Linked DNA regions of Homo sapiens: all the other regions are linked to region 3. The links are contacts of gene promoters, found by promoter capture Hi-C in blood cells and fetal thymus (Javierre and others, 2016). All regions are on one chromosome and are shown on one strand. Each heading gives the region's core, a stretch centred on a gene start or on the middle of the fragment in contact. The rest is flanking DNA. Distances are from core to core; before and after follow the strand shown.

The links. Contacts are between HindIII fragments. The CHiCAGO score rates a contact against its expected background, and 5 or more counts as called.
Region 1: a contact is called between a fragment that was not itself captured here and the fragment with the promoter of TRAF3IP2 in region 3, in 3 of 17 cell types (neutrophils, naive B cells and naive CD4 T cells). The highest score is 7.0, in neutrophils.
Region 2: a fragment that was not itself captured here is called in contact with the fragment with the promoter of TRAF3IP2 in region 3 in 3 of 17 cell types (neutrophils, activated CD4 T cells and non-activated CD4 T cells); the score reaches 7.3 in neutrophils.
Region 4: a fragment that was not itself captured here is called in contact with the fragment with the promoter of TRAF3IP2 in region 3 in 7 of 17 cell types (total CD8 T cells, activated CD4 T cells, non-activated CD4 T cells and 4 more); the score reaches 11.6 in total CD8 T cells.
Region 5: a fragment that was not itself captured here is called in contact with the fragment with the promoter of TRAF3IP2 in region 3 in 4 of 17 cell types (neutrophils, megakaryocytes, M1 macrophages and 1 more); the score reaches 6.3 in neutrophils.
Region 6: a contact is called between a fragment that was not itself captured here and the fragment with the promoter of TRAF3IP2 in region 3, in 1 of 17 cell types (total CD4 T cells). The highest score is 5.0, in total CD4 T cells.
Region 7: a fragment that was not itself captured here is called in contact with the fragment with the promoter of TRAF3IP2 in region 3 in 2 of 17 cell types (activated CD4 T cells and non-activated CD4 T cells); the score reaches 5.9 in activated CD4 T cells.

Annotation. Positions count from the first base shown.
Region 1 is chr6:111,220,397-111,223,782 of GRCh38, reverse strand. It overlaps SLC16A10 (solute carrier family 16 member 10), which reads right to left. Exons shown (of 6, transcript NM_018593.5): 6 at 1-1,780. The coding sequence ends at 1,548. Among named protein-coding and RNA genes, the nearest start is that of SLC60A2-DT, 37 kb to the left of the region's middle. The HindIII fragment of the contact is 2,991 bases long and covers 95-3,085 here.
Region 2 is chr6:111,242,120-111,245,808 of GRCh38, reverse strand. The region is part of intron 1 of SLC60A2-DT (SLC60A2 divergent transcript); the gene reads left to right. Among named protein-coding and RNA genes, the nearest start is that of SLC60A2-DT, 15 kb to the left of the region's middle. The HindIII fragment of the contact is 1,769 bases long and covers 779-2,547 here.
Region 3 is chr6:111,603,528-111,607,210 of GRCh38, reverse strand. TRAF3IP2 (TRAF3 interacting protein 2) reads left to right here and starts at 1,333. Exons shown (of 9, transcript NM_147686.4): 1 at 1,333-1,435. RefSeq lists enhancers at 1-369, 1,215-1,264, 1,555-1,624. The HindIII fragment of the contact is 15,213 bases long and covers 1-2,066 here.
Region 4 is chr6:112,048,113-112,051,445 of GRCh38, reverse strand. No RefSeq gene overlaps it. Among named protein-coding and RNA genes, the nearest start is that of CCN6, 4.3 kb to the left of the region's middle. The HindIII fragment of the contact is 1,388 bases long and covers 1,290-2,677 here.
Region 5 is chr6:111,262,944-111,266,611 of GRCh38, reverse strand. SLC60A2 (solute carrier family 60 member 2) reads right to left here. Exons shown (of 4, transcript NM_153369.4): 3 at 2,666-2,782; 4 at 1-736. Among named protein-coding and RNA genes, the nearest start is that of SLC60A2, 5.4 kb to the right of the region's middle. RefSeq lists a silencer at 2,412-2,706. The HindIII fragment of the contact is 2,247 bases long and covers 1,132-3,378 here.
Region 6 is chr6:112,094,258-112,097,667 of GRCh38, reverse strand. FAM229B (family with sequence similarity 229 member B) reads right to left here. Exons shown (of 4, transcript NM_001033564.3): 2 at 467-627. Among named protein-coding and RNA genes, the nearest start is that of FAM229B, 8.4 kb to the right of the region's middle. The HindIII fragment of the contact is 2,839 bases long and covers 701-3,410 here.
Region 7 is chr6:112,071,637-112,075,057 of GRCh38, reverse strand. It overlaps TUBE1 (tubulin epsilon 1), which reads left to right. Exons shown (of 12, transcript NM_016262.5): 9 at 208-348; 10 at 2,160-2,300; 11 at 2,982-3,156. Among named protein-coding and RNA genes, the nearest start is that of TUBE1, 14 kb to the left of the region's middle. The HindIII fragment of the contact is 6,092 bases long and covers 1-3,421 here.

The DNA.
Region 1 (3,386 bases), core at 341-2,840, 380 kb after region 3:
GTCTTAGTAGTATGTTTTGTTGAACTTCTCAAAAATGAGAAAGTAACGTTTTATATAACTGGACATGACTGAATGAAATCATTTTCTAAAAGCTTATAATAAGGACATGAAAGGGTAGTATGGTCAAAATGTAGATTTTTTTTCCTGCAAAAGAACCATCCACAGGCAAATTATCTAAGTCCCCTGAATATGAAATATGACACTATTAGAAGTGGTAAGGTGCAACTGCATGTATGACAAAGTAAGTTGCTGAATGTCTTCACAATCAAAAGCACTAACTTTTAAAGGCCTCAAGTACTAAAGCATAATTTTAGGGATAGAGGAAAGTGTTCTTGTTTTTGTAAATGAGTATGGGTCATGGCATGACTTTGGTTTTATTTTGGGTCCTCAAACTGAGAGCTTTCTTATGATAATCTGTATATAAATAGCAAAAAAAAACAATGGGAATGTTCATAGGATAAATAATATGAGTGCAAATTTTTGCCAGAAAGTTCTGGAAATGTAGGACTTGGTTCTTTTTATAAGTGCTTTTAACCTTTTCAGACTCATTAATTTCATAAACCAATTTAAGCAATTATTTCTATCAGCTACAGATATTTTCTTCACAAATATAAAGGGTTTTGCTCCCCTCCCCATCCTCCAGCCTCCACCAATTTGTGCCTGTAACTGCCACTTGATAGCTGCTCAGTAAGACTTTAAATATCAGGTTCTAGTGCCAACAAATCCAGAAGTCAGAAAAATTCTAAGTTACAATCGCCAGAATATCTTTCATGCATTCTATTTTACTTTATTGTTACAGTTTAAACAAATTCAGAAACGTGGGGTGTTTCTGGCTACTTGAGTAAAACGCACTGCAAACGCAAAGGGAACAACGCTGTAAACTTAAATGATTTCTGAACAGCTCAGGATCCTCCTGGAGGGGATCCTTTTCATCTCACATATTGATTCTGAACACTATGTTAGCACCTGCTCCCAGAAGGTCCCTTGACACTGGAGCAAGTCAGAATATCTTAATATCATAGCTTATTTAACAGCAGGAAAGCAACTTTAACATAGACTTGAGGTTTAGGTAGATCTGGTATTATCTAGAACCCAGGCTTAAATTTTGCAAAAAGTTTCCAAAGAGCATAAGAAAGTAAAACAGAGGTACCAGAACTGAAGACATCATTAACAAACAAAATATTTCCACTCCTAACCAAACTGCAACCCTTTCAGTATAGCCTGAGGTATTTTTAAACATTTGTACAAGCTAAAGATCATTCACAGTTTCCAAAGCTGCTTTTTACTGAGATAGCTTCAAATTTTCACAATATGTGACTTTCAGACGTTTTCATATACCAGAGTCTCTGCCCTCAGACTCATGGAAACATCAGAGATATTTAGTGGCAGAAAATGGTTCTTCTAGTGATAAGGGTTCTATTTCCCAATTATTGTGCTATTCCTAGGATGTGATTAAAAAAATATGAAATTTGCAATTTGTATAAAAGGAAAGGAAACTTGCTTAAAATTCAAAAAGCAAGTCCAGTCTGGTGGAGGTATGTAAGATATTAAATAATAGAGTCAGATTCTTTCTTGAACATTCCAGATGAACTTGACAGCAGAGAGTTCTGGTTTTCCAACATTTTCTCCATCTTTTCTTTTCCAGTGGTTTTACTGATCTCTCTTTGCTTCTTACTATGGATCCACGGGATAAAACAAAGCACAGCACCTCCAATAAGGGGAGGGACTCCAGCGAGGTAGAATGCCACATCATAGGAGCCCAGTTTGTCACGAAGTAACCCTGAGAAGGGAAAAAGCTGTCACCAAGGGAGAACAAGTGTGGCTCTGTAGGGGGTCTAGATCAGCCACAGGACTGATTCAGACATCTCAGACATCAGACTTTTTTTTTTTTTTAGGAAACAGATCTGAAATATAAACCCTTTTTGATAGGAAGAAAAAGATCTCATATCTTTAACGTTGTCATAAAGTACAGTCCTCTGGATTTTCATACCAAGACATTACTTGAAAAGATAGAAAGGTAGACGTTTTTTTTTTTTTGAGACAGGGTCTCACTGTGTCACCCAGGCTGGAGTGCGGTAGCATAATCATGGCTCATGCAGGCCTTGACTTCCCAAGCTCAATTGATCCTCCCAGCTCAGCCTCTTGAGTAGCTGGGACTACAGGTGCATGCTACCATGCCTGGCTAATTTTTATATTTTTTGTAGAGATGGGGTTTTGTCACATTACCCAGGCTGGTCTCAAGCTCCTAGGCTAAAGCAATCCTCCCACCTCAGCCTCCCAAAATGCTGAGATTACAGGCATGAGCCACCATGCCCAGCTTTCAAACTACTCTTTGGTGTATTTGTTTTTTATGAAATAACATGAAAACTATTTAACATCATAATTCAAAATTAAGAAAAATTTTAAATTTAATAATTTGGATGAAAGTTAGGTTGTTAAATACATTTTGGAAATAGACTAAGGTTTATAAGTACCTGGAAGAAAATGTAAGTATATAAGAATTATTAATGGCATTCTATATTCGGGTTCTGCTTCTGAAAACTTTTACGGTACTCAACATTTCTAATTTCTCTAACAAATTCCAGGACTCATGGTTTTAAAAGTTATCTTAGTGTTTTTAAACTCTTATAACTTATACTATAAAACCTAAGTTATCTAAAATGTCCAGGGAATATACTGTACTAAATATCTATCTGACATTGTTAAATAAATAGCTGACCATTTGTCCAATTAAGTACCAACACATAAAAATGTGTACATCCATTCTGCATATATAAAATAGACAATATCTGTAAATGCACAAGTTTTCTATCTTTGGAATCAGACCATTCCTGAACTCTTCCTCCTTATGAACACTCATGATTATGTTCTGCTGTAATACTATGATGCCCTCAGAGCCTCCTGGTGAGCCAGCAGCTTTCTGCTGCCAGTTGCTGTGTGGTGGTGTTCTGCCTGCTTTAGAAGTTTCCTGTTACCTCCCTTATTCTTGCTCTGTTAACTGTCACTTCTGGTAGCAAAACTATTTACTACTAGAGTGCTGCTTATATAAAATCTGCTGTGGACTTAGAAACTATAAAACTAAGCTTGTAGGCTATAGAAAGAAGAGTGAATACTATATTACCTGCGGGAGAGAAGAAGGAATGGAGGGTTCTCCTATAAGGAGACCATGACCTTTTGAACTTAAACTGGATTTGGTCTGCTCAGTAGTAACTCTGCTTGCTTGATTCATGACTAGGAATACAGTTCAGGGTATGAGAATGAATTGAGCTAAACCTTCACTGAGCACCTCATGTGCCAAACACAGATGACAGTACACACATTTAAATTTTATCATATTTATACTGAATCTTCTAATACTAATTGACACAGGCACCCAAGTAATACTG
Region 2 (3,689 bases), core at 414-2,913, 360 kb after region 3:
GAATCACAAGATAAAAAGCATCTGCCTCAAAGGTTTAATACCTTTAGCATCAAAGGTTTAATACCTTTAGCATCATTTGAGACTCAAATCATTAAACTCAAAGGTTTAATACATTTAGCATCTTTTCAGAAAATACTATTTGCTGAGAATGCTCAAATGGCCAGGGCAACAGAAGAGAGTGGTATTCTCTCTAAATGCTACGAGGATTCTAGATAAAAGTCTTCTTTTCCAAGTTACTTCTTGATAAAAGTTCATATATCATAAGACATTCAGAGGTACTTTTTTTTCTTCTTAAGCACCAAAGCTCTTTTGGATTTGTACGCATAGGATGAAGAATGGCAATTGCTAGGCAGTAGAGCCTCACCAATGAAAGTTGTTTGCTCTCCAGTATCTGAAGAGACTAGTCTTTGTTTGAAAACCTTGTGATAATGTCACTTGGGGCAGACACCTTGGAAGAGGATGCCCATTCTCTTCAAGACCCATGATAACCATCCTTTATTGCCACTAGCCCCATAACTAGGATCAAATCTTGACATCTCCAGGTGGGCAGGTACACACTATGATCCAGGAGGAAATAACACCAAAATAACTGCAATATTTTGTTAATATATATGAATGGAAACCTGGTGAATGTGTGGAAGTGGATGCTAAAGGTATTAAACCAAGGAAAACAGAATAGAACACTAGATCCAGCTGAATTCACTGCTATGGATACACTTTACTAGGGACTGCAGGTTCAAAGTGTCAGTCCATGCAGCTGGAGATGGCTGTAAAAGCTTACTTGGTTGGTTGACTAAAAATTTCGACTCACTGGTGGTCTACAGTTAATGAGGTTGAAATGCTGGAGCTTCCTTGGCATGATGTGAAGGAAGTAATCCAAAGGCTAGCCTCTGTCTTTTTCCATAGCAAACTTCAATGCTGGAAGATTTTTGAGAAATGGCTACAAAATCCCATAGGAAAGAAAACATGAGCCAAATATTTTCAGGTGTAAAGACAAAAGATAAATAGTTTGAAGATGAAAGAACTCTTGGAATATTATTTTCATAAATCCATTTGAGAAATGTTAGAAGGTTCAGTAGAACAAGAGATGAGTGGAGAAACAACTGCAGACGGGATTGGCAGTGAGCTTTGATGCAAATCACAGGACAAAGACAAATATGAGGATTACGGTGGAAAGATGGAATTTAAATGTTATTAGCCCTGATGATGTAGAAATGATAGAGCAATAAAAAGTGGAAAGCAATGGATGGAAAAGGATGAAAATATACTGATTTTTTTGTTTGTTTGCTGGATACTATGGTGTGTGTCTGTAATCCTAGCTACTTGGGGGGCTGAGGCAGGAGGATTGTTTGAGCTCAGGAATTTGAGACTAGCCTGAGCAAAATAGTAAGACCCCATCTCTAAACAATTAAAAATTATATATATGAAATAAAGTATACTGATTCCTCATCTTTAATAACTAGAGGTGAAAAGTTATTACTTAAAGCTAATTAAATGAATAGTAGAGTTATAAGTATAAAATGGAATAATACAGAGGTAAAATAATTAGAGGTAAACATGAAGAAAGATAATATTACTAAAATCAGGTGATAGAGAGGGGGAGATGGAGGAAAAAATATGTTAATTCTGTCATTGTAAATAGAAGAAAACTATTATATACTGTTGGAGTGGGGGAAGGAGGAGAAGATGAATTATTCAGTGAGTAGTAACTAGTATCAAGAAAACTGGAAAAATCCAGTTGACCCTTCAACAGCACAAATTTGAACTGCATGAGTCCACTTATATGTGAATTTTTTTCAATAAATATATGGAAATTTTGGGGGGATATTTGCAACAATTATAAAAAACTTGCAGACAAATCACATAGCCTAGAAATATGGAAAAAAGAAAATGTTAGGTATGTCATCAACGCATAAAAATATGTAGACACTTGTCTATTTTTATCATTTACTACCATAAAATATACACAAATCTATTATTAAAATGTTAAAATGTATCAAAATTTACACACACAAACATCAGACTACACATGGCGCCATTTGCAGTCCAGAGAAATGGAAACAAATGTGAAGATGCAGTATTAAATCATAACTGCATACAACTCACTGTAGTACACACTGTACTGCTGGAATAATTTTGCAGCTGCCTCTCGTTGTTGTCGTGGTGGGCTCCAGTGTTGTGAGTATCCACCCAAAACGTTGTGTGACGCTCGTCGGTCATCTCCACTTGCCCAGTTCATCTCTCCAGTAAATTCCATTGAAGTAAAAACTAATTTCTCTCAGTTCTTGCATTTTTTGTGTGTGTTTAGTGTGAGAAAAATGAAATCCTAAGCCCCCCAACCAACTAAACAGACTCCTTTCTCGGCCAAAACTCAGTTCCAGCTGTGACGAGATGGGGGCCTCATTACACCTGCTCCTGCTCTAACTGCTCTTAGGTTTTCTTCCTTAAGGGTTACAGAGAAGCCAGCCCTTCTGAGAGACTTGCTCCACTGCTGATAGCCACCAACCACCTGTCGCTGCCCTTCCATTTGGCAGTTTGGACAAAGCTTTCCTTCCTCATAAGAGACCAGGGTCCACAGAGTGGCTCTGGCCAGTCTACCAAGGATGAGCAGAGAGGTTTTCGTGTTGTCTGCTTCACCACTTGAAATCAGAGGGCCAAAAACTCCACCCTTGGATGGAGGGTGCTAACACTGCCACTTTTTGAACATGGGTCCCATGGAGAAGCATGAAGCTCTATTGTGCATGTGTGTGTTTCTCCTTTCATAAATAATCATAACTCCTCCTATAGCTTATTAAGTATGTATATTTGGCCACCTGCTTCAGCAAATCTCTGTCATACTCTTCCCCCTGTCAAAGTGTCTGTTTTTGGCTTCTGGCTGGAGGCTGTTCTTTCCAGCCTGTCAGAATGGCCACCCTGCAAGCTGCAACCCTTTATAAGAAAGCTCTCCTTTCCAAATGTATGAACCTCCATCGTTCTTCAGTTGACAAGTGCAATACTGTAAACCTTGAATAACACCATGGGACCCATACAAAGTGCCATTAGTGATGCCTGAAGTGCACTCAAGAAGCAGATAAAAGTCATGATATCACAAGAAAAAGCTGAACTCCTTGATATGAACCTTCGATTGAGGTCTGCAGCCACAGGCGCTGACCATTTCAGACAGATGATTCATCTTGTAAACAGACAATGTGAACTTGGTTTGATGAATACAGTAAAATACTGTACATGCATTTTCTCTTAAGATTTTCATAGCTGGGCACAGTGGCTCACATCTGTAATCCCAGCACTTTGGAAGGCCGAGGCAAGAGGATTGCTTGAGCCCAGGAGTTCGAGACTAGCCTAGGTAACATAGTGAGATCTCCCATCTCTACCAAAAAAAAAAAAAAATAGCCAGGCATGGTGGCACGTGCCCGTGGTTTCAGCTTCTCTGGAGGCTGAGGTGGGAGGATTGCTTGAGCCCAGGAGGTCAAGGCTGCAGTGAGCCATGACTGAGCCACTGCACTGCATCCTGGGTGACAGAGCAAGACCGTCTTAAAAACAAAAACATAAAAAGGTTTTCTTAATGACATTTTCTTTTTTCTATCTTAAGAATACAGTATATGATACATATACAAAATATGTGTTAGTTGACTGTTTATGTTATCAGTAAGGCTCTGGTCAATAACAGGCTATTAGGAGTTAAGTTTTGG
Region 3 (3,683 bases), core at 84-2,583:
TGAGCAACCTGCTTCCTGTATCCTGCTTGAGCAGAACCTGGTACAATCTGAACAGGGATGCTCTGGGGCCTGTCCCCTTGATGAGAGTAGAGAGATAGCCGGCTGAGTGGACTGACACTTGGACCCCTTCAACAGGCAGACAAGTCCAGCACCAGGAGCATGGTGTGTCTGCCCAGGGCGCCCAGCTGGCCAGTGACATGGCTGAGTTCGTACCCAGGTCCTCCTGACTCCAAAGCTCCAGCTAACACTGCTCCCATTACTGACTGCTGCCCCGAAAGGCAGTTGTCTCTCTCTCTCTCTGTTCACATCGCTGGGTATCATCCTGCCTGCAGCGCTCCTTCATGCAATAAATTCTGCAGGCTACTGATTAAACAATGGGAAGGAAAGGGGAGAAAAAAAATCTTGAGGTCAGGAAAATGCAGCCAGAGGAGGTTAGTGTGCATGTGTGCATGTGTATGTATGTGTGTGTGTGTGTTCTTAAAATTAACCACTTTTTTTGTGCCTGACAATAGGGTGGTGTGTGTGCACAAGCCACAGGCATGTGTATGCTGTGTGTACACGTGTGTCCAGGAGCATGGTCAGTGAGCCCCCCCCCACCCCCCCAGTGGTTATGGGCAGCAAATACTGATTTTTTGGGTTTTTTTAAATTTTTTTTTTGAGACGGAGTCTTCGCTCTGTCGCCCAGTCTGGAGTGCAGTGGCGATCTCGGCTCACTGCAAGCTCCACCTCCCGGGTTCACGCCATTCTCCTGCCTCAGCCTCCCGAGTAGCTGGGACTACAGGCGTCCGCCACTACGCCCGGCTAATTTTTGTATTTTTTAGTAGAGACGGGGTTTCACCTTGTTAGCCAGGATGGTCTCGATCTCCTGACCTCGTGATCCTCCCGCCTCGGCCTCCTAAAGTGCTGGGATTACAGGCGTGAGTCACCGCGCTCGGCAATGCTGATGTTTTAAGCAGTTAGAGGAGGTGGAAGAAGCTCGACTCCCTCTTCTTCCCCATTATCTGCCCACAATCCCCTCCTTTGGAGCTGCTAATGATTACTAATTCTTAACATTCGAGTTCAATCTCCTCCCGGAGACACCCTCCCAGGCGAGGGCACTGCGACTACACTGAGGTTCTGCCCACTCCTGGGCAGCTTCTTAGCTGGGTGGCGAAAACAAAAATGCCGCCTAATTGGTCACTGGCCCTTTCTCATGAATGAAGGAGGTTTCTGTTTTAAGAAATAAAGTGACTCCTCAGCCGTTGATTCACTGCCCACAGGGAGATTTTGAGCAGAGGCTTCCTAGGCTCCGTAGAAATTTGCATACAGCTTCCACTTCCTGCTTCAGAGCCTGTTCTTCTACTTACCTGGGCCCGGAGAAGGTGGAGGGAGACGAGAAGCCGCCGAGAGCCGACTACCCTCCGGGCCCAGTCTGTCTGTCCGTGGTGGATCTAAGGTAAGTTATTCGGAGTTGCCACTTGCCTGGTCTTATTTCTTCACCTCTGACCTATTTCCCAAAGCACGCTGTTTCTCCTTTACTGAAACATTCTGCCTCTACTTTCCTCTGTGTTCGTCTCCCCTCCTTTAACTTGTTCGCACAGAGACCATCTTAGCTGAGAAAATGACAGTGAAGTTTGTGCTGCAAGGATGTGTTGCTAGTATAGTATTTCAGGCCAGCGAGCCCCGCCGGGTTAACCCTTTGAGGAGAGGAGGCTCGCACACGGGGACAGCTCGGAGCTGCCTGGGAACCATTCGTTTGGGTACTTAGTGTCCCCACAAGTTTCTCTCAAGAATTCAAGCCCCACTTCTCCAAAGAGAGAGCCAGGGATGGCAAAGATTAAGTAATTGGCTTTCAGCCCCAGAACACGTCAGTGGCAGTTTTCTCAATCCTTGTTTCGTGCAGGGGGGAAAAAAATCAACAGCACATTTTTGGGCCAGGAAGTTCTGCTGAGCTCTGTGCTGGCTGTGAGCCGCCTCCCGGCCCCTCTCCGCAGCCGCCCTCCAGCCCTCCCAGCCTGGCGCTGGACGGAGCCTTTGGGAACAAGGGGGAGAAATGCCAGAACTTGATCTTAGAAGCTAATCAAGCTTCTTGTGACTTTCAAGTTCAAGATGGTATCTTAGAATAGGGGGATTTTTTTTTTTTTAAAGGAACAGGAGAACAAGAGGCCAAATTTTTTAAAAGGACAAGAAACTTGGTTTCAAGTTCTTCACTTCTTGTGGTTCCATGACTTAGGCAATTCACTCTGACTCCACTAAGCCTGGATTTCTTCATCAGTAAATTGATGGGGGGTGGTGATCTAACATGAGTGTGTCAAATTCCCTTATAAAACAAAGCCAGGATAGTCCCAGAGGGGTAGTGGTAATGGGTGGTCTTCAAGACTTGTTTTGTTTACCGATTATTCACATATTTTAATTTTACCTCCCACTACCAGTTGGTTACCCCCTTGAGGAAAGGACTTTGTTTCCTGATATTTTTCTACCTCCCAGAATCCAGCATGCTACCAAATGCCTAGTAGGTGCTCACCCCCCTTCCATGTCAACTGCTTTGATTTCTGTTTCACTCGTCTGCTCTCAAGGCAAGAGGTAAAGCAGCAGTCAGGGCGAAAGGCTGGGAGACACGTGTCTCTGCGGGAGGGCTGCCTGGAATTGAGGCCTTATTACTGGCTCTAGCCAAATAGGAGAAAACAGGGAGTTTCTCGAATTAGTTCATGTCCCATTTGGGTTACCCAGGAAGGATAGTCTGTGCTATTGTCCACAGAGTCAAGGCAGGCCAGAGAACTGGCAGACAAGCCCAGCTCCAGAAGCCAGAGTTACTGCTGTAGCTGGACCTGGAAACCACTCCTCAGCTGGACCAGTCACTGTGTGTGGGGCCTTTAATGGGAGGGGAAGGGAAACTATGAAACACATCCTAATACCATGTAAGGGTGATGACTGTGATTAGAGACATTATTAGATGGCGGATACACAGAATCCTTAACTTTTTCCAGACCGTGACTTAAAAAAAAATTGTCATTGTTTCTTTTTGGCAATTACTTGCCATCAATACAGTTCAAACAGGCCCTAGCTGACTGGGATGGGCTGGTGCAGGACTTTTGGTTTCTGTGGGATGTCCTGGTGTAGTCCGTGTCATGTTTTTAGGCATTTCTCTCTATTCCCCTGGGATGAAAGGACAGGAATTTCAAGATATTTCACCTGCAATGAGTTCCTGATTTTATTTTCAAACAACGATGCACCATTATCTGAAAGCAGGCTAACTGTTGTGCACTTGCCAGCCTCGCTCTAATCCTTAAAGGCCACACACCACAGTCATTCTTAATCTGCTGCTGCAGCTACCAGTCACTCCATGATGGAGCATCAAAAGATGGATAATGTAGTTACTCTGCTCTGTTCCTTGCATGGGGTGGGTTAAACAGAAGTGAGGTCTGAGTAATGTACCAACATGTCGGATAGAAAGGTTCTTAACTCAGGGTTACTCATTTTTGGAAGGTGTAGAGACAGGAAATGTTAAAGCCTGCTTCTCCTGGGATTAAGGAGTTAGTGACTTTCAAATGCTCTGAAAAGAAAAAGAAGAGGAGAAGACAGTCATATCTGCAGGCATTCTTCAACAGGCATTCAGAAAGATTATGGTGGGGTAGTTTGTCTAAATGAAATCTTTGTTTTACACGTTGTAGAATGGAAATCTCAGGAATATCCTGAATTCAAAT
Region 4 (3,333 bases), core at 734-3,233, 440 kb before region 3:
TATCACCATTGGTCTGTGGGTACCAGCCTGTGATTCCCACACCACACCGGCTGTCAGGATGGATAATTTCATGTTTCTGGTTTGTCTATGAAAAGCAGAGGAGTCGCATCCCAACACTGGGGTATTCATCAACTGTATCTCTCCAGCTCCAGCTCTCCCCCGGTTCCACATATAGTAATGCACATATCAGTGCAATTTTTGAATTTAAGGAGTTTCACCCTCCTCCCGTTTGCTGTCTGTGAAATGCTGGCGGCAGCAGGCATTTTTCTGGAATCGTCTTCCATCCCTCTGCAGTCTCACTGACGTGGAGCAGGGGAAGATAGATGTTGACCATCCTTGCCTCTTGGTAGGAAAGGAACATCTTGCTTGAAAAGTGACCTGCAAAACCTCCCCCAGCTCCAGAACACACTGGCGCTGGGTTACTCACTCCCACATGTGTTTAGACATCTTTGGCTGTGGGAGCTCCTATTTAACTCTTTCCAGCCGACTGTGTGTGGACTCCATGGATATGGTAGTTTTAGAGGTCGGGGCTGCTATTTTTGACCTTACACAATAAGAGCTTTCACAGTGTGTGTCCTGTTCTGAGCATGTTTCCCTATTATCTCATTTAACAGAATGCTAATCTGTCTAGGAGCTCATTTCACAAGTGTTCAGTTTGTGATGTACGTTCCAATAGACATGGCGCTAAGCATAATTCAATGTGCACCATGTTCTATGATTTACAAAGAAGTTTCCTGTGTATTACATTTTTAATTTCACAGCTCAGTGAGGTGGGCAAAAGCAGTATTACCAACCTCATTTAACAGATTAAAAAGTGAAAGCTAAGCGATTATACTTGGTCAATAAAACACACTTAATCTCTGCCCTCTACAGCTAAATAATCTACTGGGAGAGAAGACGCTGAACAAATAAACACACAAAATGTCCGTCATTGAAAGTTGAATAAAGGCTAATAAGAGCAAAGAAGAAATTATAAGAGAGAATGACAGGTGAGAGCTAATTTAGATTGGGGGCAGAGAGGACATCTGAGGAAGTGATACTTAGTCAAGAGATGAAGCTAGATGAAGAGTCGGGAGACAACTGCCAGTCCAGGACTCCTTCCACTGGCAAGATGCACACCTCTAATGGTGGTGAGCTCCCCCGCACAGAGCACACCCCACTCCTTTCCCGTAAGATTCCTAAAATCGTTCTGTTAGGAGCGTCATCACAGCTAGAATAGTCCCTTCTCCTGGGAGTACCAGCCGTCCGGGCAGGCAGTGTTTGGAGCTCATGCCTGTGGTCAGCAAGCTTAGTACAGTATGAGTCTTCCTTTCCTCATCCCCTCTTTCCTTATCTTCCTATCTTACTGATTGTGGAGAAGGGTGTATTGACATCCTTGAGAAAAGAGAAGATATTGTTTGTGGAAGTAATGTATTGAATGTGTGCTATGAGGGGGGTCAATATTTGCTCCAGTGAAATAGAGATATAGTAACAATAACACAGCTTGGGCAACATAGTGAGACCCCATCTTTACAAAATAGAAAGTAAAAAAATTAGCCAGGTGTGGTGGTGCATACCTGTAGTCCTAGCTACTTGGGAAACTGAGACAGGAAGATTGCTTGAGCCCAGGATGTTGAGGCAACAGTGAGCTATGATCATACCACTGCACTCCAGCCTGGGAAACAGAGAGAAATCCTGTCTCAAAAAAAAAAGTATAATAATAATAAGAGCTAACATTGGCCGAGTGTCACTGTGTCTCAATATTGTACTGAGTGCTGTATATGTATTAACTCCTCTGATCCTTCAGCAACACTGGGCCTGTGTTCTGTGATTACCATCTTTGGTTTACTTATTAGGAAACTGGGGCAAGGTCACATGGTTAGCAAGAGGTAGAACCAAGATTCCAAGAATTTCATTACCATGCTCTGCTGCTCTCTGCATGGCCTGTAAATGACACCATGATCAGTAGCAGGATGATTGATTGATATATTAATTTGCATTGAGTTCTCTGTATTTTTCTTCCACCTGCTCCTCTCCTGGATTTCAAGAAGTTAGTGAGGCCCTTTAGGGTTCCCGCCTATCCATCCTCTAAGCACAGGATGGAAGCTGCTGGCATGCTTTATCTTGCCTTTTGAGATCCTGCCTTGTTCTCACTGGTAAGAGGTGATGCTGGGAGACGATGGGGAGGAAGAGGAGTGCAGCCGAGCATTGGGTGAGGACTGAACATTCAGGCCTCCCCATGCAGCAGCCCGGGGAGGTGACTAAAGCTCAGAGGGACTTGATGATTCATGGTACTTCCAGGAGGCTGCCCCAGTACCAGGGTGCCCTGCACTGGCTAAGTTCCTCAAAGAACTTTGTGAGGATGCAAAGCCTCAAGTGTCTATGCGTATTTGGATGATACAGGTATTGGCAGAAAACTTAGGAACTGATTATCAGAGGCCTGGCCCCTTTTTAGGCACCTTCTAGGCCTGCTGGATTGTCGTTCAACCCCCACTCATGGTGGCAGTGGTGTGGGTGGGTGGGTGGTCATGATGGTGGCCATGGTATTGGGGGTGGGGAGGAATGCACCAATGATACCTTAGAATAAATCCATCTCAGGATGGAGGCAGGGGAGGAGGGTTCAGAGCCTGGTTTAATTTGAATTAAAGAAAATGAATTTGTGAAGTCATACTCATACTTGCTACAAATACCACAAGCTTCACAAAGTAGCCATTCTCCTGCAGTGTGGACTCTCCCCTGAAAACTCACAGAACTCAGAACCAAAACCAGTGCCGGAGCATCTGTACCGTCTCCCATGGCCCTCTGTTCACTCCTGGCTTGGCCTGCAACCGGGTCTCTAATAATGCAGCAACTCTGCCCACCAGGTTGCTACTGCAAGCCCAACAAGGCTGAAGGATGTTTGCTTGGTAGGTGCTCAATAGAAACTAGGTGATTCAAAATAGAGTCCTTTTAAATCACCTTATACTACATACTGCATACTACCAAAGCTAAGCATGTCTATAATTTTGCATACATTTATCCATTGCGTTCTTTCCTGCCATTTGCAAACTATTACCATTACAGTCATATGTCCCTTAAAGATAGGGATATTTTCTTTTTCTTTTTTTTTTTTTTATTGATCATTCTTGGGTGTTTCTCACAGAGGGGGATTTGGCAGGGTCATAGGACAATAGTGGAAGGAAGGTCAGCAGATAAACAAATGAACAAAGGTCTCTGGTTTTCCTAGGCAGAGCACCCTGCGGCCTTCCGCAGTGTTTGTGTCCCTGGGTACTTGAGATTAGGGAGTGGTGATGACTCTTAATGAGCATGCTGCCTTCAAGCATCTGTTTAACAAAGCACATCTTGCACCGCCCT
Region 5 (3,668 bases), core at 1,006-3,505, 340 kb after region 3:
ATGGTCGTGTACTGCTCAATCCAAGAAACACCACTCGGAAATGTGGTTGCCATTGAAGCCCCATACACTGAAGTTGCTATCCAGAGACAAATTGGGTTCTTGTCAAAAAGCACCAGAAATAAAGATGAAGTCAGGCTGCCAATGTTGCTCAACACAATCATGGTTCCAGGCTGTAAACAGGTAGCAAAAAAGATTGCCAGGCCCCTGCAGGCTGCAAATGTCCCCCAGAAGATGGAGTTCAACCCAGCAGCTTCACTTTCTTTCATGCCAGCATGGGTGGTTGCAAATGAGAAAACATAAGAGCCATATGTTACCTCAGCTCCAACATAAAAAAAGAAGAACAGAAAAAGGAGACAAAGAAGGGCGTTGTGATATTTTGCTCTTCGAAATGTCTCAGCAGATGCTCTTGCTTTTTCTTGCTTTGAGCTATTCTTTAAAAACAGACAAAAAAAAATGACAGAAACTAAGAACATGTAAGTACCGATAACAGCATAAGCCCACAGTAAATTCTTATCATTAGGTACTCCAAACAGAGCTTCTGAGTCAGCATCAGATGATTGGTTGAGTGCAGGATGGAAGTCAGACTCTGTGTGGTTTTCAGCAGACGCTGTCGGACCCAAAGCCAGTTTAGCTAGCAGTGGAGCCAAAAAGGCACCCAAGGCAAAAGAGAAGTGTAAGGCCTGCATATGTGGGGCTCCTTTGTCCCCCCAAATAGCCAAGATAAGGACGTTACCACCTGTCGATGAAAGATGGGAAAAATTATTTAAGTTAAACAGTTACTTACTTATTAAAAAAAAAAGTTCACTTATCAGAAAGGGGGTGAGTCTATTTTACATAGCACAAGCATTATAATATTCTAATTATCAAACATTGCAACTAAATCAATTCTGAGAAAGGAATTCTAACCCACTACCACCAGACAACTCTAAGCATTATAACATCACATACTCACAAATCGAATTCTACAGTCTAGTAGACTACTACCTCCTAGAACCAAGCACATTAGCAAGACGCTTTTTATAATACAGTTCTAACATCAGACTGCAGAAGAAATATTTATATATTAATATTTTAAATATATATTTAAAAGGCAAAATTTTATCATCAGATAGTAGCCAAATTACCAAAGCTTTCTGTACTTGCTGTTGGTAGCCACTTGAGGAAAATTACTTACTTATGTATGTAACAGATGCAAAACACACGTCCAGGAACCTGAATAGCCAGGATTCTGGTATGCCCATTAGAGGAAACAAGGACACCGTTTAGCATCTGAATTTATACTGTCTAAACGTCTAGGAGGAGAAAGGCAAGAAGCAGCACATCTTGAGCTATCTTCTTTTTTTTCAACAGATATTTTCAGATAAATATATAATTCTACCCTATAATTTCATAACAAAATTAACCCTAAAGTAAAATAAAATATTTCCTCAACAGATCACGTAACAGCAAAGCAGGGAAGGGAGGGGTAGAAAGCTGGTTTTAGGAGTAAACAGATGTCATCTATGTTATTTAGTAGGTTTTCTGTTTGTTTGTTTTTGAGACCCTGGCTGGAGTGCAATGGCACAATCGTGGCTCTCTGCAACCTCCACCTCCTGGGTTCAAGCAATTCTCCAGCCTCAGCCTCCTGAGTAGCTGGGATTACAGGCACGCGCCACCATGCCTGGCTCATTTTATATTTTTAGTAGAGACGCGGTTTCTCCATATTGGTCAGGCTGGTCTTGAACTCCTGACCTCAGGTGATCTGCCCGACACAGCCTCCCAAAGTGCTAGGATTATAGGCGTAAGCCACCCCGCCGTTATTTAGTAGGTTTTTTTTTTTTTTTTGAGATGGAGTCTCACTCTGTCACCCAGGCTGAAGTGCAGTGGTGTGATCTCTGCTCACTGCAAGCTCCGCCTCCTGGGTTCATGCCATTCTCCTGCCTCAGCCTCCCGAGTAATTGGGACTACAGGCGCCCACCACCACACCCGGCTAATTTTTTGTATTTTTAGTAGAGATGAGGTTTCATTGTGTTAGCCAGGATGGTCTCGATCTCCTGACCTCGTGATCCACCCATCTCGGCCTCCCAAAGTGCTGGATTACAGGTGTGAGCCACCGCACCCGGCCTATTTAGTAAGTTTTAAAAGACATGATGATGATACGGGAAAGAATCTACTGCAGGAGGCCAGGAACTTTGAGGACAGAAAGAAAAAGAAAGAGCCTAGTCCACACTATGGATCTCTCTTGGCTTGGAAGTCAGGGTAAATGTCAAGTTGGATTGCTGCTTCTATGCTTTCTCAGCCAAATAACAGTTCCAAACTTGGTTTAACCTATTAAACCACCAATTCCTCCCATACTAGAGCAATAAAGTTCTACCCCAAGATGAAGGCCTATTCACCTGCACTGTAATTACCCACACAGGGGCCCTTCCCTGTTTGGACAATGTAAATCAATTATCTCTCATAGAACAAAATTCTTTAAGTTCATTTCAGAGTTGGCTGCTCAGAAACAGGCCCCCTAATTGGCAAGAATAGCTGCTAGAAGGGTGATTCATTCTGAGTGACTCACAACCAACTCAGTAGGTCTGTGTCATTTTAGGGGGCATTGCAAGTGACAGTTTAGTATCATCTGCTGTACTTCTTCTAGCAAGTCCCTACTCCCAGAGATGACGTTGAAGAGCTCACTAACCTGTATCCAGAATGCCAATTGAAACACCGAAGATAGACATCATGACAGTGAGTAATATTGCTGTCTTGCAAAAAGGAACAAGATAAAGACCAACGGTGGTAGCCGACATTGAGATTCCTGGGAAGGTAGAAACTCAGCTATAAAAAATAATATCCATGCAGTCATGGATCAAGTCAATATCATAAATGTCCAAACATGCAAAATCAGGTCAAATTTAAATTAGATAATGAGTAGATGAGAGTTTTTGCTTCTAAAAGTGATTATTTCATTTGAATCTTTTATAATCTTTATGGATTATGAAATATAAATAATTATAACACAAATACATTTAAAGCACTGCTAGTAATCAAACTGTAAATTATACCATAAGGCAAAGTTTTATACCAAAAGAGACAAGCCAAAACTAATTTAAATGATTCACATTTAAGAACCTAACAGGAATTTTTAGACATGAGGCAAAAAATTAAATAGACAAAAATAAAATGCAATTACTAGAGTAGTTTGTAATAAAATTTACTAAATAAATTAGTTTGGGAAATAGGGAGGAAAATACAAGAAATATGTTATTTCAACCCACTTTGGAAATAAGAGGGATTATTTATTAATTCCTTAACAATAACAAATTATTCTTGCTTCCAAAACAATTTTATCATATTAATCTAAATTTTCTCTAAATATTTCAATTTATTCAAAAAAAGTATATGCTAAAAGCTTTGCCAGCCCAGGCGTGGTGGCTCACACCTGTAATCCCAATACTCTGGGAGGCTGATCCTTTGAGCTCAGGAGTTCCAGACCAACCTGGGCAACATGGTGAAACCCCGGCTCTACTAAAAACACAAAAATTAATCAGGCATGGTGGCTCACACCTGTGGTCCCAGTTAATTGGAAGGCTGAGATGGGAGGATCGCTTGAGCCCAGGAGGGGGAGGTTGCAGTGAGCAGAGATCGCATCACTGCACTCCAGCCTGGGCAATAGAGGGAGAGGAGACCCTGTCTCAAAAAAA
Region 6 (3,410 bases), core at 871-3,370, 490 kb before region 3:
ACACACTGTTTTCAACTATTAGTACACAATGTATTCAACTATTAGTACACAATGTTTTCAACTATTAGTACACAATGTTTTCAACTATTAGTACACAATGTTTTCAGCTATTAGTACACAATGTTTTCAGCTATTAGTACACAATGTATTCAACTATTAGTATACAATGTATTCAACTATTAGTACACAAAGGGTAGGAAAAATTTAAAATGGTGCAACTATTTCTTATGCCTAGTACAGTATTCTATGCCTAAAAGTGAATGTTTATTGGTGTTAATAATAAAACTAAATTAAGGTTTAAAAATTTGAATATGATAACTTTTATAGACTGTCTCAATATCAAGAAAAAAGTGTTTCGCTCAATGATGATTTAGTGAAACCATAATAAACTCTGTGGTTTAGTATAACTACCTATCTATGCAGGTATTAACATTTAGCTAATTTGATCAAGGATAAATAGACTTACCAAAAGAGGCTGAGTCTGATTCCTGTAGAGGTGAATAAATCAATGCTTTCTACTGGCCTTTCCACAGAAGGCTGGAATTGCCAAAGGAATGATGATCAAATGTTCCGGTGACACCCGGAAATTATGACATCAGGAGATTCTTTCACATAGTTTCCTACCTGCTAAAGAATCAAACATCTCAATGCATAGCTCCAACAACAAGCTGAGGCTTAGCTAAAAATTTTCTCTAAAGCTTTTTGGAGAGTTTCATTCTTGTTTTTACTGGCTTATTTCCCTACAATATTAGTATTTTCATCCATGAGTGGGGACCTACAGTCTAATCCACCTGTAGTAAATCAGAATTGAGATTCTTCTCATTTTATATCCTGTTTTCCTCATTCCCTTTCTCTCCCAGACCTTCTCTTATAACATCCCAAATAAATCCCATCTGTCTACATCCTCATCTCACTCCAATATCCTCAAACCCAAATTGTACCTTTACAAATTTCTCTATAACTCTTACATGGGATTCTTTACACCCTCTCTCTAATGCCTGGACTAACTTTATTTTTTTTTCCTGTTTCCTCAAGAGAGTCTTCAAATTCCCAAATGGCTGGAATAATTACAATTGTGAAAGGAAGAATACATCTTTTTTGTTGTTGTTGTTGAGACAGAGTCTCGCTCTGTCACCCAGGCTGGAGTGCAGTGGTGCTATCTTGGCTCACTGCAAGCTCTGCCTCACCTGTTCACACCACTCTCCTGCCTCAGCCTCCCAAGTAGCTGGGACTACAGGCACCCGCCACCACACCCGGCTAATTTTTTCTATTTTTAGTAGAGATGGGGTTTCACCGTGTTAGCCAGGATGGTCTCGATCTCCTGACCTCGTGATCCGCCCGCCTCGGCCTCCCAAAGTGCTGGGATTACAGGCGTGAGCCACCGCGCCCGGCCGAAAGGAAGAATACATCTTGTACTGTCCTCATTATTCTGTTCCCTGAGCCCTGGGCTGCTTCTCTGCTCATTTCTCTAACTGCTCTCCCTCTCCCAACTCATTCTTGGCTTCTAGATCAATAGCCCACCTCATGAACTTCTCCTCTACTCAGTAATGTTTAGTTTAACCCTTATACCAGAACATAACTCTTCAGCTAAGCAGTTTTTCAATTTTCATATCCGATGACTAAACTATTAAATGTTAGTGAGCATTTTTACCACTGTTGTGTTTTCATATGACTCAAGTTATAGAAAACTGGCATTTTACATAAGAATTAACTTGATGTTGGATACAATCTTACCTCCACCTTCTTTTTCTTACTAGGGTACTATCTGTGAATAAGTTGATCACCATTTCAGCTTGGAAAAATAACTGACGGTGTCACAGTCACACAAACAAATAATTGCTGGCCATTGTGAGCTAAGGTATCATTAGGACCTAAACATTTGGTCCTTAGGATGGCAAAAAATGTAATAGTTTACATGTTTGAGAGGTGGTAGCAGTGGGGAGAATGATGGGTTTTAGCATCAGAATTAGGTTAGAGGTTTTTTTTTTTCTTTTTTTTTTTTTTTGGTTTTTTTTTTTTTTTTTTTTTTTTTGAGACAGGGTCTTGCTCTGTCATCCAGGCTGGAGTGCAGTGGCATGATCATGGCTGACTGCATGCAGCCTCGACCTCCTGGAATCAAGCAATCCTCCTGCCTCAGCATCTCAAGTAGCTGGGACTACAGGTGCACACCACTATGCCCAGCTAATTTTGTATTTTTTTGTAGATAGAGGGTTTTACCATGCTGCTCAGGCTAGTCTCAAATTCCTGGGCTCAAGTGATCCACCCACCTCACCCTCCCAAAGTGCTAAGGTTACAGGCATGAGCCCACTGTGCCCAGCCAGGTTTGAATTTTGACACAATGTTAGCTCTGAGATTTTAAGCAAATCACTAAAAGTTTGTCTGTAAAATGGTATTAATTCCTACCTTACAGAGTTGTCGTGAGGAATTAAAAACAATCTAACATGTATAAAGCCAATAACTGGGACACAAGAATTCAATCAGCACTACTTCCTACATATTTTTGTGTCATTCTTGAAATCAGAGTATTGAGACACTGATTTCACCTTTTAGTCATGGATATATATGAAGTAAAATATCTGTAAGTGGGGTATTCTTAAAATCCTGTAATTTACCATTTTAACTAGTCCATTTGGCATACCATGCTTCTTTAGAATGGGTGATACAATGAAACAAACCAAACAGTAGTCTTAATGATGAAACTTTACAACATTAGAATGATACCTCAGAAGACAAAAGGAATTTGAGTCTCCAGCATATTTTCATAAAGCAATAGATAAACAAGAGCAATGCAAATGGTGAATAAAAAGATGAAGTATCCAAATACCCCCTTAAGTATCACAAGCTCAAGAGTAATAGTCTTTCAATTCTCAAGATATTAATTCATGAGATGCAGAAAATGAGTGATATTTGAACTTGTCATGTTCTAAGAAAAAAAGACCCATGGACTTCATTCATTCATTCATTTAATGAATATTTGCTGAGAATCCACCATGAGCCAGGCATGTGTTAAGTGTTAAAGATAAAAGATTAAGCAAAAACAAACACAGTTCCTGTTGTGGTAGAGTTTGTAGGTTACGATAGGATTTGTTTTAGTCTAGGATATTTAATCTAAATCTAAGAGATGGGGGGCATTAATTAGGTGGAAATGAGTGGGAGACAAAAACATTGACACAGTTGAGGAGGGGGCAAAGAGGAAAACAGCATGTGGAAAGGTCATGCTAGTAAAGACAATAAAAAATCTGAAAGGCCAGCATAACCACAGCATGGAAAACAGAAAATAAATGGAGTCTGAGACATAAGCACAGGCCAAATCACGCAGGAGCAAAAACTCAAGTTAAAATTTTAGACTTTATCTTATGAACAAGGAAGCCTATCAAATAATTTTAATTTCTCAGGACACATATTTAGGT
Region 7 (3,421 bases), core at 47-2,546, 470 kb before region 3:
AAAATGTAGATGTTGTGTGTTATATTTTATTTTATACATGATTGTTCTGATACTAACTTTCACTAATATGGAAGAAAAGCATGTGTTCTGCACTGAAGAACAGTGTACAAAAGAATTTAAGAAACTACCTGCTGAATAAATCGAGCTACATTTAAAGTGTATAATTTTAAAATTAAAAATTTTCTCATTTTAATGTTAACTTTTTAGCTCTGCAAGATTTGAAGGGTCCCTTAATATGGACCTTAATGAAATCAGCATGAATTTAGTTCCTTTTCCTCAACTTCATTATCTCGTGTCAAGCCTAACACCTCTGTATACACTGACAGATGTTAACATTCCTCCTAGAAGGTAAGGTGTAACTTTGTTTCAATTTTTTGAGGCCTCAAATTACTTTAAAAAACATTTTTAAGAGAAAAAAGTTTGCAATAACTCTAGTTATTTAATTGTATCATCTTATCTGTGAGAGTTGATGACATCCATTTTTGCATTAGATGAATGCATCTTTATTTAGAAGTAATTGTTGAAAAATGCCAGTATTAAACTATTTGAACTTAAATCTAATGATTAAATTTGTAGGCTTATGAAAAGTCCTTTGAAGTCTGACAAACACATTTGAATCCTAACTGTCGCTAGCTACAGGACTTTGGGCAAGTGACTTAAACTTTCTTAGTTTTTCTCATCTGTAAAAATGAAATAGTACCTACCTCATATACTTATTGGGTAGATTAAATGAGAGTTTGTTTTAAAGCTACTGTCACAGCCCAGTACCATAGAAGAATTTCAGATGTAACTCTGTATGTTTTCCAGAACACCTTGCTTTATAACTGTGTGTCATTGTTAAGCATAAAGATTACATCAGTATACTTAACAAAAAATGTAGTTTTGAAAGATACTCTTAGCATGTATACTGATGATGAGCTTGAAAAGTTCACAGTGGCATTCACAGTTGACTGAGGGAAAAAGTCCTGCCAAACTCTGTAAGGAGACAGTATGTAAATAAGAAAGGGAAAACTAAATTGGCTGAGTGCAGTGGCTCACACCTGTAATTCCAACACTTTGAAAGGATGAGATGGGAGGATCACTTGAGCCCAGGAGTTCAAGACCAGCCGGGGCAACATAGTGTGAGACCCTGTCTGCACTTGTAGTCCCAGCTACTCTGGAGACTGAAGTGGGAGGATCACTTGAACCCAGGAGTTTGAGGCTGCATTGAGCTATAATTTTGATCCTGCACTCCAGCTTGGGCAACAAAGGAAGACAGACCCTGTCTCTAAAACAGATTGAAAATAATTTTTTAAAAGTTTTTAAAGAAAACTAAAGATTCTTTTTTATAACTAAAGTTTTGACAAGATAATTCTATACTTCAGGAATGTCACAAGTGATATTGGTAAGTTTTCATCTAAGCCAACAGCAAATGACCACTTTGCCAACTAATAGATAGGACTCCGTTTCTGCATGGGATGCTGATGACCTTAACAAGCTAAGCAACATACACAGTGTATGCAACATGGTGATTATTAAATGTCCATTGGCATCAGCCTAGCATTGGAGTCTGTGTATTGTTAGATATAAACTTTGTCAGTCACCTTTATTTTCTTTTGTCTTTTATCCTTCAGTTAAAAGACTTAGGTTAAAAGTCTCTACTTTTAGGAGAACTACTATGGAGTTTCATCTTTTATAGGAGAGCTTCACATTGTCCTTTGATAATTTCCTCCTGTTAACAAAATTTATGATATAATATACTTTACAAAGTAATAGTCTTAATGTTCTAGGCTTTTAATTAGTTTTAGTAGTTTGGATACTATGAAATAAATAAGGTATACCGAACTAAGTAATAATAATACAAGTTTCAAAAATCAGTACTACATAGAGTTCATAATGCTACAGTCAACATTTTGTAGCTACCTGAAATCACCCATATACTGCAGAAGCCTTTTCCCCCAGAAAAAGAAAATATTATATGATTTCTTCTCTTCTCATATCATTAAGATTGCTTCAAGAAAAGTATAGTTATTTAATATTTTTAGAATATATATAATCTAATATTTTGTTAGTGTAATATTTAGTGTGGTTTCTTACTTATAGAGGACTATCTTCATTTTATAGTTATACATAGAAAGAAGTAATATTTTGTATAAACAATGACAATTTCATTGTTGCAGATTGGATCAGATGTTTTCAGATGCCTTTAGTAAAGATCACCAGCTGCTTCGGGCAGACCCCAAACACAGTCTTTACCTCGCCTGTGCACTCATGGTTAGAGGAAATGTACAAATTTCAGATCTTCGTAGAAATATTGAAAGGTTTGGTTTATATTTTTAAAGATAATTTGTGTGTGCTGCTTGGGACAGTGTGGCATAGTAGTTAGTTAACAGCCGCCCTTCAAATTCTAGCAGTGCCACTTACTAAAGTGTGACTGTGAACAAACTACTTAGTCTCTTTGTGCCTTGTTTTCTTCAAGTGTAAAATAAGGATAATAATAGTACATGGTTTTTATTTAGGAGTCTTAAATGATATATGACATGTTTTATTTTATGAAAGTGTTCAGAAAATCGTAGCTATACTATTTTTATTACCACTGCCACCAGTACTACTATAGTAGTACTACTACTACTTCTGATTTTTGTGTTACTATTTCATTCTATTTGTAAGAAAACTAGTCTGTTGAATTACAAAGTAAGGAAAATGGTAGTACCTTCATTTCTTTATATCCCTAGATTTCTACTCTTAAGGAATGAGTTTCTAGCTTCTTGAATCACAACACAGCCAATTTAATGTTCCCCTACAAAATGTCTCTTAGTTCACTATCAGACTGTACCATGTTACTGCCAATAGTAAAAAATAGATAACTTAGCGTCTAAACTAAGCAAGTAGATTGATACCATCCATAATGTTCTGGTTTAACTAATATGAGCTGCCATTATATGGCAGACATTTTTAGTACCTTAGTTCTCACCTTCTGAGATTTTTTTTTTTAATCTCAGATTAAAACCATCTCTACAATTTGTCTCCTGGAATCAAGAAGGCTGGAAGACCAGCCTGTGTTCCGTACCTCCTGTGGGCCATTCTCATTCGTTATTAGCTTTAGCAAATAACACATGTGTGAAGCCCACCTTCATGGAACTGAAAGAGAGATTCATGAGGCTCTACAAGAAAAAGGTAATTATTGTACAGCTTTGTAACTGTATGTGTTTATTTTGGCTATTTAAGATGTATTCTTAAAAATTACACTATTACAAATCAGGGGTGATGTTTTCTATTATGTGCGTTGTACTGATTATAACTGAAGAGGAGAGGCTTACTCATGCTACTTTTACTCTAAATGAGAAAATTCATGAGTTTATAGGATTCATTCAATTTGACACAAGTTCTCTTTCAAATGTAGAGCTGAATGAACTCTAATTTTAATAAGGAATATTTACCT